2 separate regions of the Homo sapiens genome follow, and region 1 is linked to region 2. Evidence: promoter capture Hi-C in 16 types of primary human blood cells and fetal thymus (Javierre and others, 2016). All regions are on one chromosome and are shown on one strand. The core of a region is centred on a gene start or on the middle of the fragment in contact, and the rest is flanking DNA. Distances in the headings are between cores, read along the strand shown. Region 1 has its middle 12 kb from the start of LINC01489. Region 2 holds the start of ART4 (ADP-ribosyltransferase 4 (inactive) (Dombrock blood group)).

Evidence for each region. Contacts are between HindIII fragments. The CHiCAGO score rates a contact against its expected background, and 5 or more counts as called.
Region 1: a fragment that was not itself captured here is called in contact with the fragment with the promoter of ART4 in region 2 in 4 of 17 cell types (naive CD8 T cells, activated CD4 T cells, naive CD4 T cells and 1 more); the score reaches 6.7 in naive CD8 T cells.

Annotation. Positions count from the first base shown.
Region 1 is chr12:15,011,031-15,015,835 of GRCh38, reverse strand. No RefSeq gene overlaps it. Among named protein-coding and RNA genes, the nearest start is that of LINC01489, 12 kb to the right of the region's middle. The HindIII fragment of the contact is 8,800 bases long and covers 1-4,805 here.
Region 2 is chr12:14,842,226-14,846,837 of GRCh38, reverse strand. It overlaps ART4 (ADP-ribosyltransferase 4 (inactive) (Dombrock blood group)), which reads left to right and starts at 3,312. Exons shown (of 3, transcript NM_021071.4): 1 at 3,312-3,868. The coding sequence starts at 3,725. The HindIII fragment of the contact is 16,901 bases long and covers 1-4,612 here.

The DNA of each region.
Region 1 (4,805 bases), core at 269-2,768, 170 kb before region 2:
TGTGACTAGCTTATTTCATTTAGCATAATGTCCTCAAGATTCATCCATGTTGTAGCCTATAAAATGAACCTACCTGTTTTTAAAACATGGTTTCAGTGTTTTTCTCAAAAAGTTCTAATAATCCAACAACACATATAAATCATATAATTTCCAGGTAAGTAGGAGTTGTGAGGGCTTACCCATCTATTTTGCAAGTTTCCTTAACATGGCAGAAATCATTCTTCTCATTAGAAATTATTTTGTGGTAAGGAACCCACTAACTTTGAGAGTGGATAGCCCATTTTGCAATAAGACCCATCATCAGATGCTACCACAGCTCTACTCTCTGAACTGTTCTGGGGATGCATTGATTGAGATCCTAGCATTTGACAGAAACAAAGCAAATATATAACGTCTGTTTAGAGCCCTTATTTTCCTCAAAATCTTCTGATGTTCTCCAGGTCACCTTTGTCTTTCTGGCAACTAGCTATTTTATTCCTTGTATCATTTAACCATGGTTACTTATTAATCATCCCCCATGAGATGCCTGAAGTAACAATGTTTTGCAAATAGGTTCAGCTCTCTGGTTTTAGGGAATGAAGAGAGGGAGAACTGTAAAAGGGGAGTGTTAGACTTCATCCCCAAAGGCCAGGAACAATGTCAAAAAACTCTGGTATCTCTGCAGTTGATAGTTCCCTCTCACTTGACTAGATTTTAAAATAATTAAGTTCTCAATTTCCAACTTAGTACAATTGCAATCTCCAACAGCATTTCAGAAATAGGAAACCTGAAGCATATCTCTGCACACTTTTATTTGTAGTTTAGTAAACAGAAAGTCTGCAAATGAGAAAGAATAATGCCTAACTTCTTAAATAAGCAGAAGATGGGAATAATCCAGTCATTGTGCTTATACCTGCACTTCTCAGTTCTGCCGCAAGTATTCCAGTAAAAACTGGGTTGATCTGAGCTGAAGTGTTTCTTCCTTTTGGCCAGGTGCAAAAGTCTGGAGTCTACTTCAGAGGACGAATGTGTTTAGTCATTTTTATAAGAGTTGAAAAAAATAAGCACTAAATCTTTCTTTCAAACTTGAACTGATCCTCAAAACAGTTTTAGGAATTTCCAAAGGATCTTTTTGCTTTAGTTTCCAAACTGGTATTTTCACTTGTTTCCATCTTGTTTGCTAGATAACCTGAGTCTTAAATTTAAAAGAAAAATGCTTTGAGGATGATTTTATCAGCTCTCCATATGGAATATGAGAAAAAAAATCCATAATTATTCTGTATCCAGTTTACCTAAAATATTTTTCTAAGTTTTTGGTAGGCAGGTATTCTCCTTTCCACCGTAGAACTCAAGCAGTACAGACTATACCATGGCCTATTGCTAAGATTTACTGAGATCTCCACTTTTGGAAACCCCACAAGTGTAAATTGAGATTAATAAAAATTCCTTGGTATGAAAAATGCTAACAGTTGAATTTCACTCTCCCATCTACTCAGATATTACTTTATACTCCTGGATACCCCTCATAACTGCTCCTGATGCCCAGGCATCCAGGGTTAGGTGAGGAAGCATGACCTGGGTTTTCAACAAACTGCATGAGGCCACTCTGGCCACGAGCAGACTCTCTATCCTCAGGCCCCCAGTAATTTTGAGTTACTTCCTCTCAGCCATCTGACTTATATGTGAGGCACAACTGCACAAAAATAGCAATTCTTGACGCTTTTATAAACACATCTACAGAGAATGTTCCCATTATTGCCTTAATATAGCAATCTGAGATAATCAGGTCTGGAAACATAGCCACGTTTTATAGGTAAGGAAACCAAGCATAAGTGATCTAAAAACTAACAGGAGAGTGAAATTGAAACCAGAACCTTGGTTTTCTGACTGCCCGTTATGGATTCCCCCTCTGGTTTTCTAGGAAAGCCCTATAGTGAAGGCCATATTGCTCTCAATATTTCTTCTTCTTTTCAGTTGCCTTTCTTTATGCCCCTCATCCCTGTCTGTCTTTTCCTCATCCAATCTCCTTGTGACTCTCTGAAAGTCCCTGCCCTGTGACAGTCAGTTCAGACCTACCCTTTCTAGCCATTTTCTGATGCTCTCTGAGCTGCAGATTTTCCTGAGCTTCAGACACCTCTCGTTCTCTCAATGCCTTGCTAGACTGCTGCAAGTTCAATTTATAAGGAGCTGATGGGAGATAATAGTTTACTGCAGTGGTTCTCAATCAGGGCAGTTTTTCTCCCTGGGGGACATTTGGCAGTGTCTGGAGACATTTTATGCTACTGGCACATATTGGGTGGAAGCCAGAGATGCTGGCTGCCATCCTGCAATGCACAGGACAGCCCCCCAAATACTAAGTAGAAATACTTCGTGCCTAATGTCGATAGTGCCTCCAATGTCAAGGTTGAGAAACCTTGGCTTAGAACAATAATCCATCCTACAATGTTTATTACCAGCATTTCCCGAAAGGAGTAACCAATGCCAAGACTTTCTATCATCATGGTGGTTGAAGAAGATAGTAGGTTTCAAACTGGCATGTACGAAAGTGTGGGGTGGGCCCATTAGTCAGGTCACAGAGACAATAGCCTACTTTGAGTGTGTTAACTGATCATTCTTGACACAGTAAAGTCACGTAAACTGCTTTGTGGCAATATAACTAAGACTTGCTGTGAGAGGAAGGCAGAAAAGAGAACGTGAGCACAGAGTTCTTCTCAGAATCACTGAAGGTTTGGTATGAGTATGCCCCACAATGGGACTCCTGCTTCGAGACGTGAGCTCGGAGCAAATGTGTCCCAAGCAATAACATAAGATCATTATGTGTGGAAAACAGACTTAAGAATAAAATACACTAAATATTTTTGATGTAGTATCCCATGGTGGGTAACACATGTCAGAGATGTGAGTGCAAATGTGAGACGCCTGATCTGCTCTATCTAGTTCAATTGGAGTCGTGGACCTTCTAATTCCATTCCTTCTGTCAAAAACATTTTTACATTCATTCTGGGATGTGTGTCATGTAAATTTTTAACCAGTAGAGCAAATTTTCATTTTATCTCAAGGACAAAGAACAATTTGCTCTCAGCTACAAACTTCCTTCCTTCCATCTGTAACATCATCAATTCTGTTCTTGGTTCCTCCTCTTCAATCATGTGGGACCCACTCAAAGAACAAAGAAGTCCTTTGACCCTTTGTCCTCCCAACCACTTCCATGTTCATGACATATATTTGTGATATTTTGAGTGAGTTATAATCACTTAATTCTAACATGTTTTTTGAAAGAACATTTTCCTTAGACTTCTTACTTTCCAACTCCAATTCTCTCAACCTAAAGAAATCCTTTCTGTCCCACTTAGCTGAATCCAAGCACCCCTCTTCATTTACTTTCTGGTCCCTTGTTTTTCACTGGACACTTTTCTACACTCCACTTGGGCACTTTCCAGCTGCTGAGGCACTATATTTTTATCTTTTCTCTCTTACTGCTTTTTTATGTTAACAAGAACATTACGTGTACTTACATCACTTCTTTTCCTTCCTTTTAGTACTGCAGGACCAGAACTATATGAAGTTCTGAGGACATAATAGCAGTTACAATCTTGTTCATCTACTGAGATAAATGGGCCTGAGCTCTCCTAGCATTTCTTCTTTCCATAATCAATTGTGATTTTTTCCATAATCAATTGTGGTAAAGCTCTCTCTTTCTGTCTCTCTGTCTCTCTGTCTCTCGCTCTCTCTCTCTCTCTCTCTCTGTGTGTGTGTGTGTGTGTGTGTGTGTGTGTGTGTGTCTGTGTGTGTCTGTGTTTATGACTATCAGAGGAAGAGAGACAGCTGGAAATTATTTTCAAGTATTTAAAGGTGATAGAAGTTCTTTTTCTTAGATAACATGCTATCCGGACCAGTAGTTATATATGAAACATATAACTAGTGTAGTATATAAAACATAAAACAATTTCCCCTTGGTCTTTCATTCAAAGTCCAAAACTTAAAGATCACGCTGAGAAAAGAGGGGTTCGGTGCTATATTAGCTGTAACTTAGTCTTGGGGTCTCTTCCAATGGTTGGCCTTGTTTTCCTTTGGCAAGGAAAAATTTATTGTTATGCTTGGAAAATATTTTGCTGTTAGCAGAAGAATAGTCGATATTTCAAAGAAAGATAAAGGGAGTAGAGAGAACTATGTGACAGGACATTTTTCTTGATTGTTTTCAAAATGGAAGGTTGAGGGAGGGGTATTCAAGAAAAATAAAGTACAATTTTGACCTCCACAAAGCAGAAGCTACATCTATTTTACCTTCCCACAGATCCCAGTAAAATATTCTAGACCTGGTGAGTGTGAAATAAGTATTGTGACCTGTTTTGTCCTGAAAGTCTAATTAACATAATCAAATAAGAACTTCATGTGAAAGTATGCAAGTTGCCTTTGTAATAAATTACTATTTAGAGATTAGATGAGTCTACCTAGTAGAAATGTACACAGTGGCTTTAAACCTTTCAGAGTACTGCCCCTAGTGAACATTTGTTAAAAAGACAGCATGGCCTGAGCACTCTAAAGCACAAGCCAATGTCAGGGCCAGAGCCTGTGGGCTAGGCTAGTGGTGATGGTGGTGTTCTTCATGTGTGGCCAAGAACAGGAGAGGCAAGAGATCTACCAAGGAGCCTATAACAGAAGACCAGAGACCTGAACTACAGAAACCAAAACTGGGTGTGGAATAACTATTTAGCAGAAGTTTCTCTGATGCTGTACTAGATTTTTGTGGACTTAGCCAGGCCCAGACCTAAGCTATGGCAAATTCCAATGATGACCCAGGTCCTCTAGTTTGGAAGCCAGGGACT
Region 2 (4,612 bases), core at 2,063-4,562:
TCCCTGTTTTATGAAATAAATGCTGAGGTATTTAAGGGTAAAAGAGCATGATATTTGCAATTTATTCTCAAGTTGTTTAAAAAAAGAGAGAATGATAGAGCAATTGGGGTAAAATATTAACAACTGATTAATTTGGAGAGTGTATCGAAATTCCTTCTACTCTTGCACCTTTTGTGTAAGCATGAAATGTTATCTAAATAAAAAGTTATAAAAATGTGAAATAACTGAGGGAGCTTTGCTCACTTCTGTAAGAGTGTTAAGAGTTAAGAAGGAACTGATAAGTTAAAACGTAGATAACTCAAACCCATTCTGCCTACCAAATTATGGGGTCACTATCAAACAACTTTCCTGTGACTAACAAGTACTTCTGGCAATAAAACACTCCTATTAAATTTAGACACAGATCTGAAGGAGTTCAACAAGATCCAAACAGGAACTACTAAAGGTCATTGCCAAACCTCAAGGACGGTAACAGAAGATAAGTTTCCTCCCTGGGAAAGGCCCTCTAGTGAGTACTGCAACCCATTCTCTGAAAGAAGGTTTAGAATAGTCTAGAATATCTAGAATTTATTCCAGAAAATAGATCTGGAAAATTAGCGAAACCTCTTCTTAAACAGCTGCTTAAAAAAAAAAATAAAGTTAACTTTCACTGTGTTGGACACCCTATGAGTTGTTGGTCTTTCATTTCATTGTCAACAGAACCCTGCAAGACTGGTGTTACCATGTCTACTTTTACATATGAAGAAAATGCAACTGAGAATTAGTGTAATTTGTTCCAACTCACAAAGGTAGGAAGTGATGGAAGTAAAATTCCAACACAAGGTCTGTGCTACTTCAAAACTTATATCCCAACCCATCAAGACAGCACAAATAGGCTGCATTTTGAAGAACTGGGTATCATTAAATGATAACTGAATGCACCCCAAACTCTAAATTAACTAATATTAAATTATTACATGAGAATCTTAATAAGATAGCCCTTAAGGCAAAAGATGACTTTTTATTGACTCCAAACAATCAGAAAACTTAACTTTTCATTTTAATTCAAATATGTTCACATATACACCAGAACTTGAGCTTTTCCCTACCCCAGTTGTTTTCACTGATGGTTCTCTCTCTCTGTCTCTCTCTTTCTCTCTCTCTCCCCACCTTCTCTCTCTCTCCCTACCTTCTCTCTCTCCCCTCCCCTCCCCACTCTCTCGCTCCCCTTCTCTTTTGCTCTCCCCCTCACTCTCTCTCCCTCTCTCCCTCTATCTTTCTCCCTCTCTCTCTCTCTTTCTATCCCCCTTCCTGCTCCCTGCCCCATTCCCTTTTCTGTTCTCCCTCTTTTAGACTGAGTGGTATAAAATGTTACAAAGTTTTCTGCTGCCCTCCAGTGGTCTTATCCTGGAAGTGGCAGTCACGATAGGAAAAATAGCAAAACCTTTATAGAAGATAATAATAAAATGACACACTCTTTTAGAGTGTTTTAAGATCGTGGGCTTCAGGAGACAGAAAAGCACCTGTGATTACTAAAAAGTTATTAAACTTCACAGGGCCTCAACAACCACATTTATAAAGGAAAGGTTAAAATATCTCTTCATGGTCGTCCCATGGGTTGAGATAACATGCAAAAAGGTCTTGAAGTACAGTACTTGCTCAATAAAAGAAAAGTTTCACCTTATTTAAGCCTGACAACTTTCTATAAGGTTAAGGAAACTGAGGCTAAGCACAAATTACTTATTTTTTAAAGTTACCTCAGCCAGCATTGTGGGTAGAACTCAAACTATAATTCAAATTTTCATATTCTAAGTCTAGTTCTCTTCATGACATCTCAATATTCCAAAGTAACAGTTGCTAATAAGGAACCTTAAGAATTGTTAAAGTCTTAAAGGGATATTTTCACACACTGCTAGTGGTTGCCATTAAATCTGAAAAATATGCATTCCATGGATCAGTAGTCACATCTCTAGAACTGCATCTTAAAAATTGTGAGAAACACACAAAAATTTATGTAGTTGAAAACAAGCTAAATATAAGATATTTATTAAATAAACTTTGGTGCAAATAATAATAATTGGTTTTATTTGTTGGAAAATTTCTAGGTGCCAGATGCTATTCTAAGGAGTATGAATGTATCAACACTAAAATGAAGTTGGTACTATTATTATCTCCATTCAACACATGAGGAAACAGAGAGACAGAGAGGTTAAGTAGCTTGTCCAAGATCACACATTTAGGAAGAAGGAGCACCAGGAATTGAACTGAGATGTCTTATTCAAGAGTCCATGTTCTAGTCACTTATCAATCTTCTTCTGAGACTGTCCATGGATCCACCCATGCTGTCCCATTGTGTGGCAGCACCTATGTAATGGAATATAGTGAACCTTTGTTTAAAAAATGTTTCAATAGGTATTAAATTATATAGGGACATGCTTACATTAAAATATTAAGGGGAATAAACAGTATGCAAAACTGCATACTATATTATTTCAGTTCTAGAAACCTGTGTGTGTGTATGTCTAAGGGTGTATAAATCAAAATCCAGACCTAATTAGTGGCTGTCTCCAAGTGACGGGTTATGTGTCATTTTTTTCTCCTTTGTGCTTTCTAAATATTCTGAATATTTGTTAATGAGACAGAACTGCTGTGATCATCAGAAAATTTAGATTAAAAAAATTCAGGGTGCCAAAAAATTCTAGAATACTTAAGAACAGCACTTAGTTTACCTTAAAAGTTAAAAATTGAATCCAGAAGTAAATATTTGCAAGAAAAACAATTATCAAGGATTGCTAACTTTTAGTTTCTTAAATAATGAATCCAGAAGTATAAATACAAAATATTTGCAAGAAAATATAATTATATCAAGGGTTGGGAGGAGAAGAAGGATGTTTAGACTAGAAAGGGTAGTACCTACCTAAAAGAGAGTGCTTAATAGAACTGTGCTGGATTAAGTTTGCACAGTGGACCCTATTTTAACTTATGTCAGCTCTACATAAGCAGTCTCCTGACAGTCGTCATTAGGATTCACTGGAGACTGGAACTGTGCGGACAGAGGGCCTGTCTTCAGAAGAGAAAATGGGGGAAGAGCTTTGAACCCAGAGGTACAATCTCTGGATTGGAGAGTTTCAAAGGTGCCAGGGAAAAGCAGTACAAAGAGCCTTCTTTTTGACAATAACTCTAAAACACACTTTGCTCTGTGAACGCCCGTCCTGGGCAGGGCCTATCAGCAGGGCCAGATGAGCCTATAGACACCCAGGGTGGCGCGTTCCCAGCCGCCCTGCGCATGCCAATCTTATCAGTTTTGATGGAAGCCTGGGGCTCCAGATAATGCTACTTGGCCCCAAACGCTGGACAGAGCATGCTTTTTCCTGTTTGGCTGGGAAAGGGAAGGCTGAACTGCTGAGTCTGACACTTAACAGGACTTCGGCATTCCCCTGAATACAGACTAGATCAGAGATTTTATTTTTTTAATTGAAAAGTAACTTGGGTTCTCTTTAGAAACCCTTATTTGGTGTGCGCATCTGGCTATTTCACAGAGATTTCAGTTTTGCAAAGAAGTCGGAGTTGATTTCTTCCCTCAGACAAGCTATTGGTTGTTGGTGGGCAACAGAAGTTGCTCAGCATAGACAGGGGAAAAAACGGTTACGGATGAGACTGAAAGAAAACCTCAAAGGAGAACTCTGAGAATTCATCTCAGGATGAAGCTGCAAGGGCAAAGGAGAAGTACTTGTGACACAAGCAAATGGGTCCATTGATCAACAGATGCAAGAAGATTCTTCTCCCAACTACTGTACCTCCTGCAACGATGAGAATCTGGCTCCTTGGAGGCCTGCTGCCATTCCTGCTGCTCCTCTCTGGCCTGCAGAGACCCACAGAGGGTTCTGAGGTAGGGGGACAATTGAGGGGGTGATCTCTTTATGATCAGTGCTCCAACAGAGCATTCACCCGGCCACAGCCTTTAAATGGCCGAAAACTTAGGCATTCAGAATCTAGTTTCATTCAGACATTTTAACAAATCATGTTAGTAAAGAGTGTTGAAAACAGTTATGAAAAATTGTAGAATCCTTCACTGTTAGTACACTTGACATTATGGATGCTAGTGGCATAAAGTTATTTTCCTGATCCACTGTAAAAATTAAGTAAAATATTGCTTCCATAGTACAAACAATGCAAAATAAACCAAGTCTATTTGGCTTTAAACTCTAGCATACAGATTGACTTAAGTTTTAAGTGAATATTTTAATAAAGATCTGTGTAACAAAAAACAACCTAATGTTAAGAGATGACAGAGTACATATTTGAGATCTAGTAACATATTAACAAAGTTTCAGAGTTCATCATGACAGTTGACAGAACATTGTATTATTGGTTTGGTTTGGCTCGGCTTGGCTTAAATAGATACCGTAGACCTATTTTAATACCTGATGTGAAGAGTTATTGGTTAAAATCATTTAATCAGTCTTAAAAATGTGTTCTAGTTCACAAACAACTAGCTGACGTCTCATCATAAATAACATAGTAAAAATACCAAATGGGATGTTCTTTAAGTTCCAGTTCCAACATCCTTAACATTGACTGGATGGAATGTGATCCTTTAACATGTCCCTCAATGAGTACTGTTTATTACGAA